Regions from separate parts of the Homo sapiens genome. Here region 1 is linked to region 2. Evidence: promoter capture Hi-C in human tissues and cell types (Jung and others, 2019). All regions are on one chromosome and are shown on one strand. Each heading gives the region's core, a stretch centred on a gene start or on the middle of the fragment in contact. The rest is flanking DNA. Distances are from core to core; before and after follow the strand shown. Region 1 overlaps ME3 (malic enzyme 3). Region 2 holds the start of ME3 (malic enzyme 3).

Region 1 (5,082 bases), core at 1,853-4,352, 150 kb after region 2:
GGCTGCAGAACAGCAGATATTGGTGAACAGCAAATGTTGCTGCCTGATCGTTCCTCTGGAAGTTTTGTCTCACAGGGGTACCCAGCCATGTGAGGTGTCAGTCTGCCCCTACTGGATGTTGCCTCCCAGTTAGGCTATTTGGGGGTCAGGGACCCACTTGAGGAGGCAGTCTGGCCATTCTCAGATGTAAGCTGTGTGCTGGGAGAACCACTACTATCTTCAACGCTGTCAGACAGAGACATTTAAGTCTGCAGAGGTTTCTGCTGCCTTTTGTTTGGCATTGCCCTGCCCCGAGAGGTGGAGTCTACAGAGGCAGGCAGGCCTCCTTGGGCTGCAGTGGGCTCCACCCAGTTCGAGCTTCCCGGCTGCTTTGTTTACCTACTCAAGCCTCAGCAAGAGTGGGCATTCCTCCCCCAGCCTCGCTGCCACCTTGCAGTTTGATCTCAGACTGCTGTACTAGCAATGAGCAAGGCTCCATGGGCATAGGACCCTCCGAGCCATGCACGGGATATAATCTCCTGGTGTGCCATTTGCTAAGACTGTTGGAACAGCGCAGTATTAGGGTGGGAGTGACCCGATTTTCCAGGTGCCGTCTGTCACCCCTTTCTTTGACTAGGAAAGGGAACTCCCTGACCCCTTGTGCTTCCTGGGTGAGGCAATGCCTCGCCCTGCTTCGGCTCATGCTCGGTGCGCTGCACCCACTGTCCTGCATCCACTTTCTGACACTCCCCAGTGAGATGAACTCGGTACCTCAGTTGGAAATGCAGAAATCATACGTCTTCTCTGTTGCTCACGCTGGGAGCTGTAGACTGGAGCAGTTCCTATTAGGCCCTCTTGGCTCCACCCTCTCCTTTTTTTTTTTTTTTTTGAGACAGAGTTTTGCCCTTGTTGCCCAGGCTGGAGTGCAATGGCACGATCTCACCTCACTGCAACCTCTGCCTCCTGGGTTCAAGCAATTCTCTTACCTCGGTCTCCCTCGGTAACTGAGATTATATGCACCTGCCACCACACACGGCTAATTTTTGTATTTTAGTAGAGATGGGGTTCACCATGTTGGTCAGGCTGGTCTTGAACTCCTGACCTCAGGTGATCCACCCACCTTGGCCTCCCAGAGTGCTGGGACTACAGGCGTGAGCCACTGCACCCGGCCTCTGTGTGTTCTTAAAGGTGAACTGAATCTTTTGTAGGCAAAATATAGTGGGTCTTTTTTTTTTTTTTTAAACCATTCAGCCACGTTAGCCTTTTGATAGGAGAATTAATTCATTTACATTCAAAGTAATTATTGATAAGTAAGGACTCACTACTGCCATTTTTTTAATGGTTTCCTGGTTATTTTGTGGATCCTCTGTTCCTTTCTTCCTCTCTTGCTGTTGTGGTTTGACTGTTTTCTGTCAACATCAAAAGTTTCTGTTAGAAACTTTTCTTCAAAGAATTAGGTATTTGAATAGAAATGTATCAGGCATTGTGCTCACTACTTTTCATATATTATCTTTAATTGTCACTGCTCTATTGGAAACATTTCATTGCCCCTATTTTACAGATGAGAAAACTGAGGCTCAACTGTAGTCATTTGTCAAGGTCACTACTAACCAGATGACCTAGAATTTGGGTCTAAGTCTGTCTGACTGTCTGCTCTGAAGCTTCCCAATAATATCAATGTTTTGCAAGTTGGAGTGGGTCTCACTGGAACTTATCCCTGACCAGAGACACACACATCTTTTCTCAATCATTTCAAAGCAAATACTTTTTTGGCCTTTAACTTTCCTGATCTTGAATGTTCTGAGATTCCTTCCTTTCGAGGGATTTGTAGTTTGGAGGCGGAACTTAGTCAAAACAACACATTAGATCAAATGTGTGCTTCTCCCCTTCCCCCTGCTTAATTGCATCTGATGAGTAATCCTTTCAGACATATAATTCCAGGCACTTAGCTGTCTCTTACATTTGCTTCCAGGGATCATGGTCCCTGAAGTTTAAGCATATGTTTTCCCAGTGAACTTCTGTGCACTTTGAAAACTGCATTCTGTTCTCTCTTATTAAATTCCAGCTTTCATAACTAATATGCAATGATAGCTCCAGAAATGTTTATCTGGTAAATTAAAGTGGGTGGGGTCTTCCACTTACAAATTACTTCAGGATAGGACTCAGATGCCTGCCCATAGAACTGCCTCATAAATGCTAGCATAAAATGGATTCGAGCTTTTACAATTTCAGCTTTTTCTTGGTTTAGGGGACTATTATCTTGGTGTATCTTCACAGGGTTCTGAGCTCCTAGCCTATTTCTTAAACTGAGGCTGCAGATTTATGATTCAGTGGAAAAAAATGTGTGACTACTTCTCAAACCTGCTTTGGAAAAACAAGCAGATAGGATGTTTTTCTCTCCTTATCTTGTAGTTACATGTAAATAAATGACTCATTGGCTGCGCCTCTGAGTCAGGGGGACAGTAATTTCAGAATCGCAGGTTTGATGATTATTTGCTTTGGATATCAAATGTTTGTATTAGAACAGAGACACATTCCAAACAACTTACTGCCCAGAGACCCAGATTCACTAGAGGCCTTCTAGACGTCAGGAAGGTGTTTGTTTTATAAAGTGGAGGCATGTGTGGGTCTGTGCCATGTTCACAGCCATAAAAGAAAGTGAAGAGTGTTAAGTGTGACTTTTCAGGGAAAGGGGCCTAAAGCCTCTGATTATTATTTCTGAAGGAGTAAATATTTTAGTAGAAAAAGAAACTTCTTTGTACCAACTCTCTCTGAGTTTCTTGGCACATTTTAATATTCTAAGTAACAGCTGAAACTACATTAACTTTCTCTGTTCTAATTGGAAACATCTGTGACTTGTGGAATTAGAATTTTTAGATTCTGAAGTGATATTCTATTTGGACAGAGGTGTCAATTTCAGCTGAAATTTCCTTCTATTCCGCCTTTTTTCCCCCTCCTGATTATAAAATGTTCAGTCAGCTAATGATGTGATGGAGGTTCAAGGCCTTCTTCATCAGCTTTTCCATGTACTCACGATTTTTAGTGAAAATTGCATGTATACTTCTTCAGCTATTTGCACACCTTATCAGCATTCTTCTTATTCAAGAAGAACAGATGGAGAAACTCTTTCAACTCTTGGAACTCAACTGGAACAATTATTTTCTGCCAAAAATAAAATCTCATAATCAAAAAAGAGGATAGAGCAATATCTGAGATTTGCAAATTCCAGGAAGAAAAAAAAGAGTACAAACAATTAGAAACCTATTTCAGTTTTTCTCTGTGTTAATAGAAGCCTGTCTTCTATAGGGCTTAGTGTTTTACAATCATCACCTGAAACTCCAACAAGAAAGGCAAGAAGGCACAATGGTTTCTTACCTGCTTTCCCTTACTACTTTGCCAACTTACCTCAGTGATATTACCTCATTTTATTGAGCTTCGTTAATCTCAGGTGTAAATGAGGACAACAACATATACCTCCCAGACTTGTGGCAGTAAGTAAATGGCATAGCATTTATAAAATGTTCCCAATGGGAGCTAAATAAATGTTGGCTTCTTTTTTTCTTCTTTCTTACTTTTTACATATGGCAACTAAGGCAATAATGACATGACTTGCCTCAGTCCAAAGATCAGGTCTTCAAGGAGCCAACAGTAGGACTGAGGTTTGCTGGTTTAACACCTTTAAGTCTCCCTCCATAGAGTTTGGCAAAGAGTGAATTGAAGACTACCAAAAAGTCATGAAGGGCAAAAGACTGTGGGTGATATATAATCAACCTCCCAGACCCCCTTCCCCCCGGATACCAAAATCCATGGATGCTCAAATCCCTGATATAAAATGGTATAGTATTTGCATATAACATACATATCCTACAATATACTTTAAATCATCTCTAGATTACTTACTATATCTAATACAATGTAAATTCTACGTAAATAGTTGTTACAAGACTTGGAACCAACCCAAATGCCCATCAGTGATAGACTGGATAAAGAAAATGTGGCACATATACACCATGGAATACTATGCAGCCATAAAAAAGAATGAGATTGTGTCCTTTGCAGGGATATGGATGAAGCTGGAAGCCATCATTCTCAGCAAACTAACACAGAAACAGAAAACCAAACTCCACATGTTCTCGCTCACATGTGGGAGTTGAACAGTGAAAACACACAGACACAGGGAGGGGAATAACATACACTGGGGCCTGTCGGCGGGTCAAGGAGGGGGCGGGGTAAGGGAAGGGATAGCATTAGGACAAATACCTAATGCATGTGGGGCTTAAAACCTAGATGACAGGTTGACAGGTGCAGCAAACCACCATGGCACATGTATACCTATGTAACAATACATTCTGCACATATATCCTAGAACCTAATGTAAAAAAAAAAAAAAGAAAAAAATAGTCATTACACTACATTTTTAATTTGTGTTATTTTTTACCATTTTTTTAATTGGCCTTTTTTTCTTAATCTGGTTTTTTGTTTGTTTGTTTGTTTGTTTGTTTGAGACAGAGTCTTGTTCTGTCACCCAGGCTGGAGTGCAATGACGCAGTCTTGGCTCACTGCAACCTCTGCCTCCCGAGTTCAAGCAATTCTCCTACCTCAGCCTCCTGAGTAGCTGGGACTACAGGTGCGTGCCACCACACCCAGCTAATTTTTGTATTTTTAGTAGAGATGGGGTTTTGCCATGTTGGCCAGGCTTGTCTCAAACTCCTGACCTTAGGTGATCTACCAACTTCGGCCTCCCAAAGTACTGGGATTACAGGTATGAGTCACCATGCCCGGCCTTTTTTCCTAGTATTTTCAATCCACAGTAGGTTGAATCCAAGATGTAGAACCTGTGGATATGGATGGCCAACTGTAAGCCACTTCACAGAGGCTTTGTGTTATTACCAGGATTTTAATTAATGACTACACAGGGAAAGGACTCAAAATAATGCTAAGAGAATGAGCTTGACTTTCTATAGTAGACACCTAGAAAATGTAGTTTTGAAATTAGTAGACTGGATCTACAGATCAGTGAGTTTTTGAGAGTGAAAAGAAAAATAAATAATTGTGTTAATAATTGTGTCAAGACACAGGGAAACTAAAGTATGTGGTTGCCCT
Region 2 (5,631 bases), core at 1,164-3,663:
TTTTAGTAATAGACTCCCCACTGAACTTCAGTAGAGCACATACATGCCTTTCCTACTACAAACAATATTTTCCAGCCCTCCCTGTAGCTTGATATGAATGTGTGACTTAGTTTTTACCAATGGAATGTGAGTAGAAGTAATATATACAACTTTCATGTCACTTCCACAGAACAGATTTGCTTTGGCTGGGCATAGAGGTTCACGCCTGTAATCCCAGCACTTTGGGAGGCCGAGGCAGGAGGATTGCTTGAGCCCAGGAGTTCAAGAACAGCCTAAACAACACAGTGAGACCCTGTCCCAATTAAAAAAACAAATCGATTTGCTTTCCCTCTGTTTCCTTGTTCCCGCTTTCCACGGCTGGGATGCTAACATGGTGTTAGCGCTGTGTAGAGGCGGGCAACAGCTACAGAAGAGCCTGGCAGCAAAAGAGAAAACCTGGGTCCCTGGACAACTGTATGGAACTGAGAAGCCACCACCTCCTCTTGCTACTGCCTTCTGTCACTGCTCCTGGTGGACCTGCCTTTAACCTTTTCTTTCCTGTCACCAAAGAACAAACACACACACAAAACAACATTGTAGAATTATGCCTGGGTTAAGAGAATATAGGCCACAGGTGAGGACATGTAAGAGACTTTTATATGTAAACTGTACAAGCTTTAGTGAATTGATGCTATAAAAATTATGTTCGCTTGTTTGGAAACCTTTGTTGTTTACATCCTGGTTTCAAATGACTAAAGTTACCTATTAGATATCCTCCAGGGGAGGGAAAGGTCATTGTATTCAGCAAGGGCAAACTGGTTCAACAATCAATTTCCAAATATTTGCATGCACTAGATACCAAAGATGGAAACACACATGATCTCTGCCCCCCAAAGATGTTGACTGGTGGGAAGAAGTGCCAATATAAAAATAGTGTTGAAAGGATTTAGTTAATACTATTGGTTGCACACAATCACACATCTGACACAAACTGGTTTAAGGCAGAAAAAAAGATCATTTATAAGCTTATGTAAATATGCAGTCCAAGAGTAAACCTGACTTCAGGGATGTAAACCCTACTGGATGAGAATCTTCATGGATGGGGCCTGGAAAGCTGTATTTTTGCCCCATCCTTATTTCCTACCAGGTAATTGTAATTCTGTTTTGGAAATAACTATTTTACGTAGATCATTCAAGTTGAAAATTAGATATTACACAGGGAGGAGAGAGACTGCAGGAGGAGACGATTATTCCTGAAGGGATGAGGGAATCCTGAACTCAGGCAGGAGCACCCCTTAGCACATTATGGGCCATGATGTCTGCTTGGTACTTACAACGGGGCTAATGCTGGCACCGGGAGCTTTGAAGGGGTGTCAGCAGAGGACCGTGCCAACTGTCTGTCAGTAAGTCTAAGGGTTCACGATCCTTATGAAAGTGGCTGCCACTTCCCTTCACCTAACAACTATTTATTGTGCAACTACATACCAGGCAGTGAGCTAGGCAGTGAGGACACACAGGTTCACAGGCAAAGAGCCTCTCTTCATGAAGCTTACATTCTAGACAGGAGATAGTCAGTAAACAATCAGAAAAACAAGCGCGCTACTGACTGTGTTAAGTTCTCTAAAGAGAAAAACCCCTTCACTCTATAGTTCCTAGTGCAGGCTGACATTGAATGGGATAGAGGAAAGGCCTTCGAGTTGACAACTTAGTGGAGAACTGAGAGGTGGGAATGAAGTAGTGGTTTGCAAGGCTGGAGTATGAGCCTTCCAAGGAGAGGCAATAGCAAGTGCAAAGGCCCTGCAGTGGGAGGGAACCAAGTGGGGTGAAGACACAGGAAGGATCAAGTATGGCCAGAGATCAGTGAGAAGGAAAGAGTAGAGTAGGATAAGTCTGAAGAGGCTGGCAAGAGCCAGTTTATGGGAAATCTTGTAGGCCCTGAAAGTTTGGATTTTATTCCACACACAACAAAGTGTTTGCTTTAAAAGGAATCTCCTGACTACTGTGTGGAGAAAGTATAAAATTAAGTTTGGGGCTAGATGGACCCCAAGATCCCTGTCTGGCCCCAATAACCCATGGCAAACTCCATGGGGTCCTCAGAAGTCCTCTTAGTAACTGTGGCTCCTATGTCAATGATGCTTAATAGAAGTATCCGCAAAAACAGAAATGTTCTGTATCTGCATACAAGTGGCTCTTGAACTGGAAATGTGGCTAGCGTGACTGCAGAACTGGATGTTAAATTTTATTCTATATAGACTAATTTATTTACGTTTATATAGCCACACGTGGCGAATGGCTATTATATTGGACAGCACAAGGCAACACTGAGCACCGAATGCCTGAGGATTTCTACTCCAAATCCTGAAGGCACGCCCTTCCCCGAATGTTGGGAGAGTGCGAGGATATGCTGACCCCCAAACGCAAATCCCCCTCTGTGCATTTAGTCTTGCCAAGATGGAGAGTCTCAGGCGGGCATTCTGAGCTGCTTCTTGTCACTGGGGAAAACCACGTGCACGCAGTGCTGAGGCGCCCCACGCGCGTCCTCAGGGGAAGCCAGGCACTGAGAACAAAGGTTGTGGGACCGCTCTTTGAGGAACTCACCAGCTCCGCGAGCTCGCGGCCGCCAGCGCGGTCCACCCATTGGCGGGAGAGGACTCACAGACCGCAGCTCCTCACCCCGCCTGCTCCGCAGCGGGACCGCGTAGACCTCAGCTCCCCGAGCAGCGCAGGTGGGCCAGGGAAGGAGAGGACCGAGGCAAGCCACCACGCGGGATTAGGGGTACGGGGACCCCTCGCCGCGCAGTCGCCTCTTTTTCACAGGGATGGGGGCAGGGGTGGCGCCGGCTGTCACCCGCACCGGATCTGCTTCCAGGGCTTGGTTTCGCTTTGCCTGGCTCTTGGCTAGGCCTGGCGCCCCGCGCGGAGCCGAGCAGGTGGCAGCCGAGGAGTGGCGGGGGCTGGAACATTTAACCCTTTGGGAGCACCTGCCCTCTCCCAGAGGGCGCGTCCCCGGATCAGGCCCGGTGCCCCGCAGCGCGCGTGGGTCCTGGCTGGCTGGAAGGAGGCCCTGACCTTGCTTTCTCTCCCGTGCCAGGTCTGCCAAGGACCATGGGTGCCGCGCTGGGGACAGGCACGCGGCTGGCTCCCTGGCCGGGCCGGGCCTGCGGCGCCCTCCCGCGCTGGACACCCACCGCGCCCGCCCAAGGCTGCCACTCCAAGCCTGGCCCGGCGCGCCCTGTGCCCCTGAAGAAGCGCGGATACGATGTCACCAGGAACCCTCATCTCAACAAGGTAATGGGCCAGAGGGCAGGACGGCCCGCGTTGCGATCCCGTGGCTGCCGGAAAATTGCGCCCCGCCCCCTGGACCCAGAAAGGATCCTCCCGGGCGCCCTTCCAGCGGTTTTTCTGTTTTTGCCTTGCAGGGGCTTGTTGTGACTTGGTTTGGCTTTCTTGTCCCTCCTCTCCCTTTTATGCGTGGAGAGAGGCGACCAGTAATGCAGGGAGCCTAATTTCTTCTGCAGTAACAACACAGACCAGGTTTAGATCCTCGCGGTCAGTCTGACCTGCGGTCAGCTCTCCCCTTGATGCTTACTAATTTTATTGGTCTTGGGCAGTTCATTTAACCTACATGAGCCTAGGTTTCCTTATCTGTAAAAGAGATATAATTGTCTTAGGAATGTCGTGAGATCTAAAGAGAAAATGCGGGTAGAAAATGGGGGTACGTTAGAACAGTGCCTGGTACCCAGTGGGAGAATAAATAAGGTTATGATTATTATTCTGAGAAAAAGATTAATTTGAGAGCAAGGATGGAAAAGTCTAGACTTATAGAAATTTTCGAGCTTGCAGGAGCATTAGAGATCCTAGTTTAAACCTCTTCTTTTACAAAAAACAAGACAAAGGAAACTTGCCCAAGGTCACCAGCTAGTTAGTTCTGGCTCTGCCACTGGAATCCAGATCTCCAATGCTTTGGTCGAGTTCAACCCACCGCTAGCTCTTTTGTATTTGTTTTTGGGAATAGAGTTTAGTATCTTTGGTTCAGAGGATTGGGTGAGAGAAATAGAAGCAAGGACAGATTTAGTCCTGTCTCCCCCTACCTCCTCAAATTAACTCACATATCTCATTTAACTTATCTGAGGCCCAACTTTCTCCAGCCTAAAATAGATATTATGATAGACCCACCATTTCTATCTCATTTGGTTATTGTGACAATAAAATGAATCACTGAACTTGAAATCATATTTTAAACTGTATAAAGTGCTGAATAACAATTACTGCAAAATAAATTTTTTTTTCATAATTGCTCTGACTCTGGATTGTGAAATTCAGGTGAGGCAGTCTGTATGGAAAAGATGTTTTTGAGAAGTAGGAACAACTATATAATGTGAAGTATTGTGACTGTTTCCTACAGAACTAATAGAAGCGGCTAAGGAAAAAAAAATCAAAATCAACCTCTATCACATTGGAGTCCTGCTCTTTCCAAAAGAAACCTTAAATTGTTTGGACGCTACCACTTTCCAAAGTGTTCAAGGTGTTTGTTATCACCTTGAATTACTTTGCTAGTAAGCGTTAGAAAATACAAACTGGCTTAAGCACACAAAGGCTCCTTTATCTAAAGAATCTAGAGGAAGGGTTGCAGGCACGGCTTGAACCACAAGCCCAGATGGCATTGCTCAAGATGCAGATTCTCTCTGGCTCTCTACTCTGCCTCTCTGCAAGGTCAGTTTCATCCTCAAGCTCTATTCAGTGAAGTCTCTCACTTCGTTATTGCCACAGTCCTCCATCTCCTGTTCTCACACCACATCATCCAGGAATAGAAAGATACTTTTATTCTGGTAGCTCTTGGGGAAGAGAAAATACCCTTTCTCTGACGCCTCAGAAAGCGAATCCTTCTGCCTTATTGACTCTGATTAGATTCTCTCTTCCCATTCCCAAACCAAAACCAATCACCAGTAATTAAAGCCGGTCAGAGCCCACCCCTGGAGTTAAAATGGGGTTTAAGGTAGGGCCACCCACACCATCTGGCTTGGAATAAAGGGAATATAGATCCTCACAGTAAATATGGATAGTGTCATCAGAAGGAGGAGGAATGGATGTAGAAAGCAAAACAATAAATTCCCACTACAGGCTCCAATCATTGTGAAAATAATTGCCTTAGAATTACTGGCATGTTACCAACCAGCATTTATTGCTTTGTTAAGTAGTTAAGAAAATGAAGGAAGATCTTTAAGTCTTTTTTTAAAACCTAGGTTTTGGTCCCCTGAAATCATTCTTGCCCCTGTCGTTTGCCTCTGATGTAAATTTTTTTCTCCCAAGTACTATAAATAAGTTGTTGATATGGTTTGGCTGTGTCCCCATACAAATCTCATCTTGAATTATAATCCCCATAATCCCCACGTGTTGTGGAAGGAACCCTGTGGGAGGTAATTGAATCACGGGGGTGGTTCCCCTGCATGCTGTTCTCGTGATAATGAATGAGTTCTCACGAGACCTGATGGTTTTATAAGTGCCTGACACATTTCCCCTGCTAGCGCTCATTCTCTCTCCTGCCACCCTCTGAGGAGGTGCCTTCGCCATGATTGTAAGTTTCTTGAGACCTTTCCAGCCATGTGGAACTGTGAGTCAATCAAACCTCTTTTCCTTATCAATTACCCAGTC

Evidence for each region. The method cuts DNA at HindIII sites, captures the fragments that hold promoters and counts their contacts. A contact is called where the count stands out against the background at its distance.
Region 1: a fragment that was not itself captured here is called in contact with the fragment with the promoter of ME3 in region 2 in 2 of the 25 tissues and cell types used here (IMR-90 fibroblasts and aorta).

What each region holds. Positions count from the first base shown.
Region 1 is chr11:86,521,649-86,526,730 of GRCh38, reverse strand. The region is part of intron 4 of ME3 (malic enzyme 3); the gene reads left to right. Among named protein-coding and RNA genes, the nearest start is that of ME3, 150 kb to the left of the region's middle. RefSeq lists an enhancer at 2,049-3,248. The HindIII fragment of the contact is 7,481 bases long and covers 1-5,082 here.
Region 2 is chr11:86,669,398-86,675,028 of GRCh38, reverse strand. ME3 (malic enzyme 3) reads left to right here and starts at 2,413. Exons shown (of 15, transcript NM_001161586.3): 1 at 2,413-2,705; 2 at 3,071-3,267. The coding sequence starts at 3,085. RefSeq lists a silencer at 1-42. The HindIII fragment of the contact is 8,709 bases long and covers 1,267-5,631 here.